2 separate regions of the Homo sapiens genome follow, and region 2 is linked to region 1. The links are contacts of gene promoters, found by promoter capture Hi-C in blood cells and fetal thymus (Javierre and others, 2016). All regions are on one chromosome and are shown on one strand. The core of a region is centred on a gene start or on the middle of the fragment in contact, and the rest is flanking DNA. Distances in the headings are between cores, read along the strand shown.

Evidence for each region. Contacts are between HindIII fragments. The CHiCAGO score rates a contact against its expected background, and 5 or more counts as called.
Region 2: a contact is called between a fragment that was not itself captured here and the fragment with the promoter of ABLIM1 in region 1, in 1 of 17 cell types (non-activated CD4 T cells). The highest score is 6.3, in non-activated CD4 T cells.

Annotation. Positions count from the first base shown.
Region 1 is chr10:114,656,644-114,659,996 of GRCh38, forward strand. It overlaps ABLIM1 (actin binding LIM protein 1), which reads right to left and starts at 1,632. Exons shown (of 23, transcript NM_002313.7): 1 at 1,314-1,632. The coding sequence starts at 1,557. The HindIII fragment of the contact is 14,035 bases long and covers 1-3,353 here.
Region 2 is chr10:114,395,630-114,398,982 of GRCh38, forward strand. All of the region lies in intron 1 of AFAP1L2 (actin filament associated protein 1 like 2), which reads right to left. Among named protein-coding and RNA genes, the nearest start is that of AFAP1L2, 7.2 kb to the right of the region's middle. The HindIII fragment of the contact is 190 bases long and covers 1,724-1,913 here.

The DNA of each region.
Region 1 (3,353 bases), core at 382-2,881:
TCATAAAATCCAAAAGTTGGAAACATCCCAAATGTCCATCAGCTGGTGTAAGCAGAAACAAATTGTGGAATATCTATACGGTGAAATAGTATTTGGCCATAACAAGGAATAAAGTACTGACACGTGCTACAACATGGGTAAACCCTGAAAACATGCTAAGTGAAAGAAGCCATAAACGAAAGACCACAGATTATAAATTCCATTCACATGAAATATCCAGAATAGGGAAATCTAAGAGGCAGAAAGTAGATTTTGATTTCTTAAGGCTGAGAGATGGGGATGAAGAGGTTGGGGTGGGGAGGCGATAGCTAAAGGGTACAGGGTTTCTTTTTGAGGCAATGAAAATATATATGTAACATATCAGTTGCATACTAAAACTCGCTGAACTATAGACTTTAAATGGATGAATTTTACAGCATATGAATTATAACTCAATAAAGCTGTTGAAAGCTGATTGCAACAAAACAGAACATCTTAACTCCAGTACTTCAGCTAAACTGAATCCAATTCAACTCTGGCTGTCCAAGAATGACGAGGAATGCGTTATGCTTCCTGGCTTATTTGACTTAACTTCATACATTCGTAGGGACCATGGTTAATTGCCTTCTGCTTCCTGTACCAATTCTAGGTCTGACTTTGACAAGGTGTGAGCAGTTGGGTAGGTATCATCTTCATTAACAAAGGCACCATGATAACTTCAAAGTCTGAAAACTCCCAAGTGCAATAACTCTATCCTCAGAGTGGGCCTTCTCCACCTCTTTCCCAGGCAGAGGGATGAGTGACACGTTTTAATGAGCTTCACTGAAAAGAAGCCTCAACAAGTTCTCTCAATATTAAAACACTTTCTTTTTATTTTATTTCTTTTTTAGAACATTTCACAAGACGAGCCCTCCCTACACAGTGACACAATTTGGACCTCAACTTTACTTATCTTTTGCTAGCCTCCATCTCCCCCCTTGAATATTTCCTTTCCATTCATCCTTTGTCATATGAAATAATAACATCTACAGATAGAGATCTTTCTTTTCCATCATACTTCCTATTACTGACAATTATTCATACCAAGTTTGGAAAGAGATACATTTGTTACTGAAGATCATAAAATCCTGGACAAAAATATCCTTGGGATTTAGCTCCGTAGCTACACTTATGTTACATTCTCCATCTCTCCCACCCTCACCCCCATTAATTATATATTAAGGATAGTGTTTCCTTTGAAGAACACATTACAGAAGAATGATCTGGATAGTACTCTCTTAATTACGCCAATCACAAAACACAAAACCATGTCCAGAGAGGGTTATTTTACTTACCAAAAGGATCAACGCTGTTACATACACGCCCACGTGGGCAGTAGTCCTTGGGACAGAGATACAGCAAATGAGTGATAGTGGCACGCCTATGAGCGGTGAAGGAGGTCCCAGAGACCCTCCGGTCCTCAACAATCAGTCTCTTTCTGTTCGAGCCCCTGGCACTGGTTCTCTCAGATGAGGTGACTTTGCTTTTCTCAGAGCTGCACAATTTCCCCAGACACTTTAGACCAAGGAAGGCAGGCATCTTGGCATGGATTTCCAAGCAATGAGAAATGGGGAGTGGGGACCCAAGGAGCGGTGCTGCCCCACAATTCTCTCTGTTCCCCTGGCTCCTTACTGTCTCCTTTTCTCACTGCCCAGCAAAGAAGATTAAGGGAGATGTATTTAAGTGATTACCCTCAAGAGCTTAGGGCACCATATTCTCAGTCAGATGACTAGGTATAAAAACAGCCACTACCAGGAACTCGAGACTTTCAGTCTCAGACATGAATGCATATTTGAAAATCAGATTAATATCCAGAATAAGAGAAAGAATATAACTGCAATATCTAAAAGAATTCTCCTGCAAATACTCCTAGAATATTCAGTATCATCTGGTAAGAGTACTGAGAATAGGGCTAGGGATATATACACATATTTTATATAATCTAAAAATGTCTATCAGAAAAATCCCAGGGTAATAATTCCAAGTTTTCCAGTATTTCAGATCTCACAGGTGGAGGTGGGGAAGGCTCGATAAAGATCCTCAGCTTCAATTCGTGACAAATCCAGCTCTCAGCCATAGTAAACGATCATTTCCTTTCCATTTTCTAGAAGGGGACCCCTCCCCTCAGTACCAGGAAAATCCTTCTGCCTCATTCCATTAAGCCAATGTTTACTGTCGTAATGTTTCATGGGTTTTCTGTGATGGCAGAATCATATGATGGAGACAGAATTAACATGTAGGTAGCTTCAGCTTTACACAAAGTTACAAGCTAGAAGGACCTTCATGGAATTAGTGTATTGATATAAAAAGGACAACCCCAGTAATTATCATTTACTCTTTAACATCCACACAGTAAGATGCAGTACAAAATGTGACCGTCTACAACCATACAAAAGTCCCAAGTCAAAATGAATAAACTCACACTCCTTCTCCTGTCATTGGGCTATTATGTTCTAATATAAATTCCTTTTCATTAAAACCCTAGAATAGAATTATAGAGCTGACAAGGCCATCAAAGGTAATCTAGTCCAGTAGTTCCCAAATATTGCTGTGCATAAGAACCATCTGCAGGTGCGGTTGCTCACGTCTGTAATCCTAGCACTTTGGGAGGCTGAGGTGGGAGGATTGCTTGAGGCCACTTCGAGACCAGCCCTGGCAACATAGCAAGACTCTGTCTCTACAGAAAAAAAAAAAAAAATTAAAACATTGGCCAAGTGTGGTGTCATGCATCTGTAGTCCCAGCTACTCGGGAGGCTGAGGCAGGAGGATTGGTTGAGTCCAGGAGTTTGAGGTTACAGTGAGCTATGATTGTGCCACTGTACTCCTAGGTGACCGGGCAAGACTCTGTCTCAAAACAAAAAATCTGTAGAACTTTTGAAAAATACAAAATATATATATACGGGATTCTTGCACGTAAAGGTCAGGAACTTACATTTCTTTTCTTTTTTTATACTTTAAGTTCTAGGATACATGTGCACAATGTGCAGGTACATATGCATACATGTGCCATGTTGGTGTGCTGCACCCATTAACTCATCATTTACATTTCTAAACATTCTCCCAGACTAGTGCCAGCACTCAGGAAGCACTGATCTACGCCAGCCTTTAAGATGAGGAAGGTGAGTCTCAGAGAAGATGTGACTTTCTCAGGACAATGCAGAGAGCCTAGGGTGGAGCCGGGTCTTCTGCCTCCCATGCTGACTCTTCCTATCCAATAGTCGGGTCCTTCCACAAAGGCCCCAGGCAGATGAAGCAGAGAAAGGAAATTCTTGCTTCTTTTGTTACAAGTTCCTAATCTATTGGCAACACAATTCAAGAACCTGAGAATTCCAATT
Region 2 (3,353 bases), core at 569-3,068, 260 kb before region 1:
GGTGGAGGATGGAAGGAAATGGCAGGATTCCCACTTGTTGGGCTAACAAGAAGGCTAAGACAGTCCCCTAAACCCAAACAGATGCCAGTGTGCCCAGGCAGCCCAGGGGAGATTGTGGCAGAGGTGTGCAGCCCAGGGAAGGAAACATCTGGAATCCCCCACTCATAAGCTCCCAGCTTCTCCCTTGCACTCAAACCAGACGCGGGCCTTGGGGCTGCCCCAAACCCGACCCTTCTTAGGTAGACCAGCCACAAGCCAGGCCTGACCCTGCATCAGGGAAATTTCACTTCAAATATGCACAAAAACACTGCCTGCCTCTCTAACATCAATGCTTTCCCCCAACAAAACTAAGACAATTAGAACTAAGGATTGCACTGGCTATGAGTCTGTAATTCTTCCAGAAAACCCTGGAACAGGTGGAAGAGACCTGCCTTTGTGGGTGACTAGTGGCTTGGATGTGTTTGTGATTTTAAAAAGTTGCATGTGGGAAATTCTCCTGTATAATTCATGGTTGAACATGACCTCAGCCCATGTAGTCCTCACGGATGGAAGTTCCACAGCCTTCCAACAGGCTGTGCTTAATAGAGATGCAGACACAGACCCAGCTTCCCAGGGTACAGAGCCAGACAAAATTCACCTGAAGAACAGGCAAATTCAACATGGGCTTTGATTAAAAAACAAATAAATAAATAAAAAGGAAAACACCAAGATCTTAAGAGTCCATTCAGATCACCCAGAGTGATACTTCTTCCTTCTTGGGGACTTCCACATCCTGTCCGCTGGCCTGGTGCAGTGACGACTGGTAATTCTGCCCTTGCATCAGAAGGCTTCTCCTTGTCTAGAAATAAGAGGACTGATTCTTTACATCAAATGCGACTGGGTGTGTTATTTCGATAAATCATGGGTTCTTCCCCTCAAAATCAATCCTAGCTAGCATAGACAAGCAGGACTGCCAAAAACAAAAAGTCAACCAGGAAATAATTATCCTGCAGACTTGATTACTCAATTCTAATACAATAACTTTATTGGTAGAAAAAAAAGACTTGCAGACAGGCTGCCAAAGCCAGTACATTAGATCCATGTGTGGGTAGCAGCAGAGTTCCCAGGGTGGGAACCTGAGTCTAATGCTCTTATATTCCATGGTCCTCCTGGGCTTGTTGGCTGCCTGGCCTTTAGGGGAGCTGCTTTTGCCTTTTCTCTAAACAGAGGGAGAGCTTCCACTATCACACTGATTGTGCCTAATGAAAAAGTCTCTGGCATTTAGGATGTCATCAGGCATGAGCCCTTGGCCTTTTTGTTTTGTACCAAATTTCTCACCCTTTTCTGCTGCATACACCTCCAGAACCATTGCAGACACACCCACACCAAGACTCAGTTGCTAATTACAACCCATGATACCCAACCTTGACCTTGAACCTTCATCTTATACCACAGCATCACAACTGCTAGAGTGTTTTTAAAAGTCAGCTTTATTGAGGTTAATTTACACACAGAAAAAAAAAAAGCCCTTTTAACTACACAGTTCTGAATTGTGACAAGTATGTATGGCTGTGTAACCACTACCAAAATGAAGATACTGAACATCTCTATCATTCCAAAAATTTCCCTCACGCCCTTTGTGGCTCACGCCTTCCCCCAGTCCCAGTCCTGGCAACTACTGATCTGTTTCCCTATAGTTTTGCCTTTTCCAGAAAGTCATATAAATAGAATCATTCAGTGTGCAAGCTTTTGAATCTTGAATAGCAGTATGCTTCTTTCACTTAGCATACTGGTGTGTATCACTAGTGGTAAGTTACGATCTGCCAGTTTTTAAGCCTTGGACTTTCACTTTCTTGTCAAAGAGACAAAATAATTGGTTCCAGCTCATGTTTGCTATGGAGAAATCAAACTCTTGATTCAGAAACTTTTACTAAAGCTTAGGTCCGGTAATAGGGCAACTCACCATCTCAGTTTGCCCAGGACTAAGGGGATTCCTGGGACACCAGACTTTCAGTGGTAAAACCAGGAAAGTCCCAAGCAAGCCCGGAAGGCTGGTCATTCAATTTGGGAAAGCTACCTCCAAGGGTAGGACTGTACATTCACCCAGCTTGGATTCTTCCTGGTACACAGTGGTTGCTGTCTCTGAGCTAACAGCTGGCTAGCCTCTCTTGCTTTAATCTCCAGCAGAAGGCTGATTTGCAGTGTGCTGGGGCTGAGCTTCCGTACAAGCTCACCACAGTCCACCAGGACTGTATCTGCCTTTGAAGTCCTGGGAGGAGCTCCAGGAAGTGAGAAGAGAACTCAGGGGCCTGCTTAGAAAACAGCAGAACAGGATTTCTACTGGCATGGGTGCCTCTCCCCACTCCTCCCTAATACCAGACTCCCCTGAGAGATGTGAGATCCGTGTTCCCTGGCCTCACTGTGTTTTTGCATCAGTCCAATGCAACGCGTCCAGGGGGAGGCAGGCTCCTCCTGTTTTTCTACACATTCTCCCTTCTCCCCGCTCAATGCAGTTTGTGGTTAGTTTGTTTTTTGAAACTAACTGGGGAGAATATGAGAGTCGAGTGATAGAAAATTAGGAAAGGGCTCAAAGCTACTATTTGAATTTAAGGGTCTCTCCTATGTGGACTTAATGAGACATCAGAGAAAAGTCAGGCAGGGCTAGGATGTAGCTCTACACATAACAAATGAGCAGTTCGTCACCTATCTCTTTCTCCACTGACATGAAGAATACACAGATGCTATCTCTGAGAAGCTAGGATGCCTAGAGGCTGAGAAGCCCCAACTTATATCTCCCAACAGCATTGAAAAGCACACAGTGGGCAGAGCCCAGTGAACTGTGAAAAGGCAGGAACTGGTGGGATCAGAACCACATGCCAGAGGTTTCAGGGTATCTGCTCCCCTGCGTTAATTTAACATTCTCTTTCTCAAAGTCTTTACCAATAGCTCTTACAAGTTATTCCACCAAGTGGCCTGCAAGGTAGATTAGTAATCATTATTCTCACTCATACAGATGAGGAAACAAGGCTGAGAAAGATTAATTGACTTGCCCAAGGTCGCATAGCGAGTTAGTGGCAAAAGCCAGATTAGAATCCCGAGCCCCTGAGTGCCCAGGCCGGTGCCCAGCTCCTTGATCTCCCTCAACCATCCACCCAGAGCATGGGCAGAGCCAGGTCTGCACCCTCGGGAGCCCTGGAGGCCAGGTGAGCTGCTGCAGAGGGCACAGACAGGCTCATACTCACACGCAGAAACCTGCCGGATCCTTCTCTGTACCACCAGACAGCAACACCCCTGTGCTGGAATAGACAGAAATAAGGCTCAAGTCGGGAAAGCCAAGGGTGGCCACTGTGGGCTTTCATCTCCATTTCTGGAAT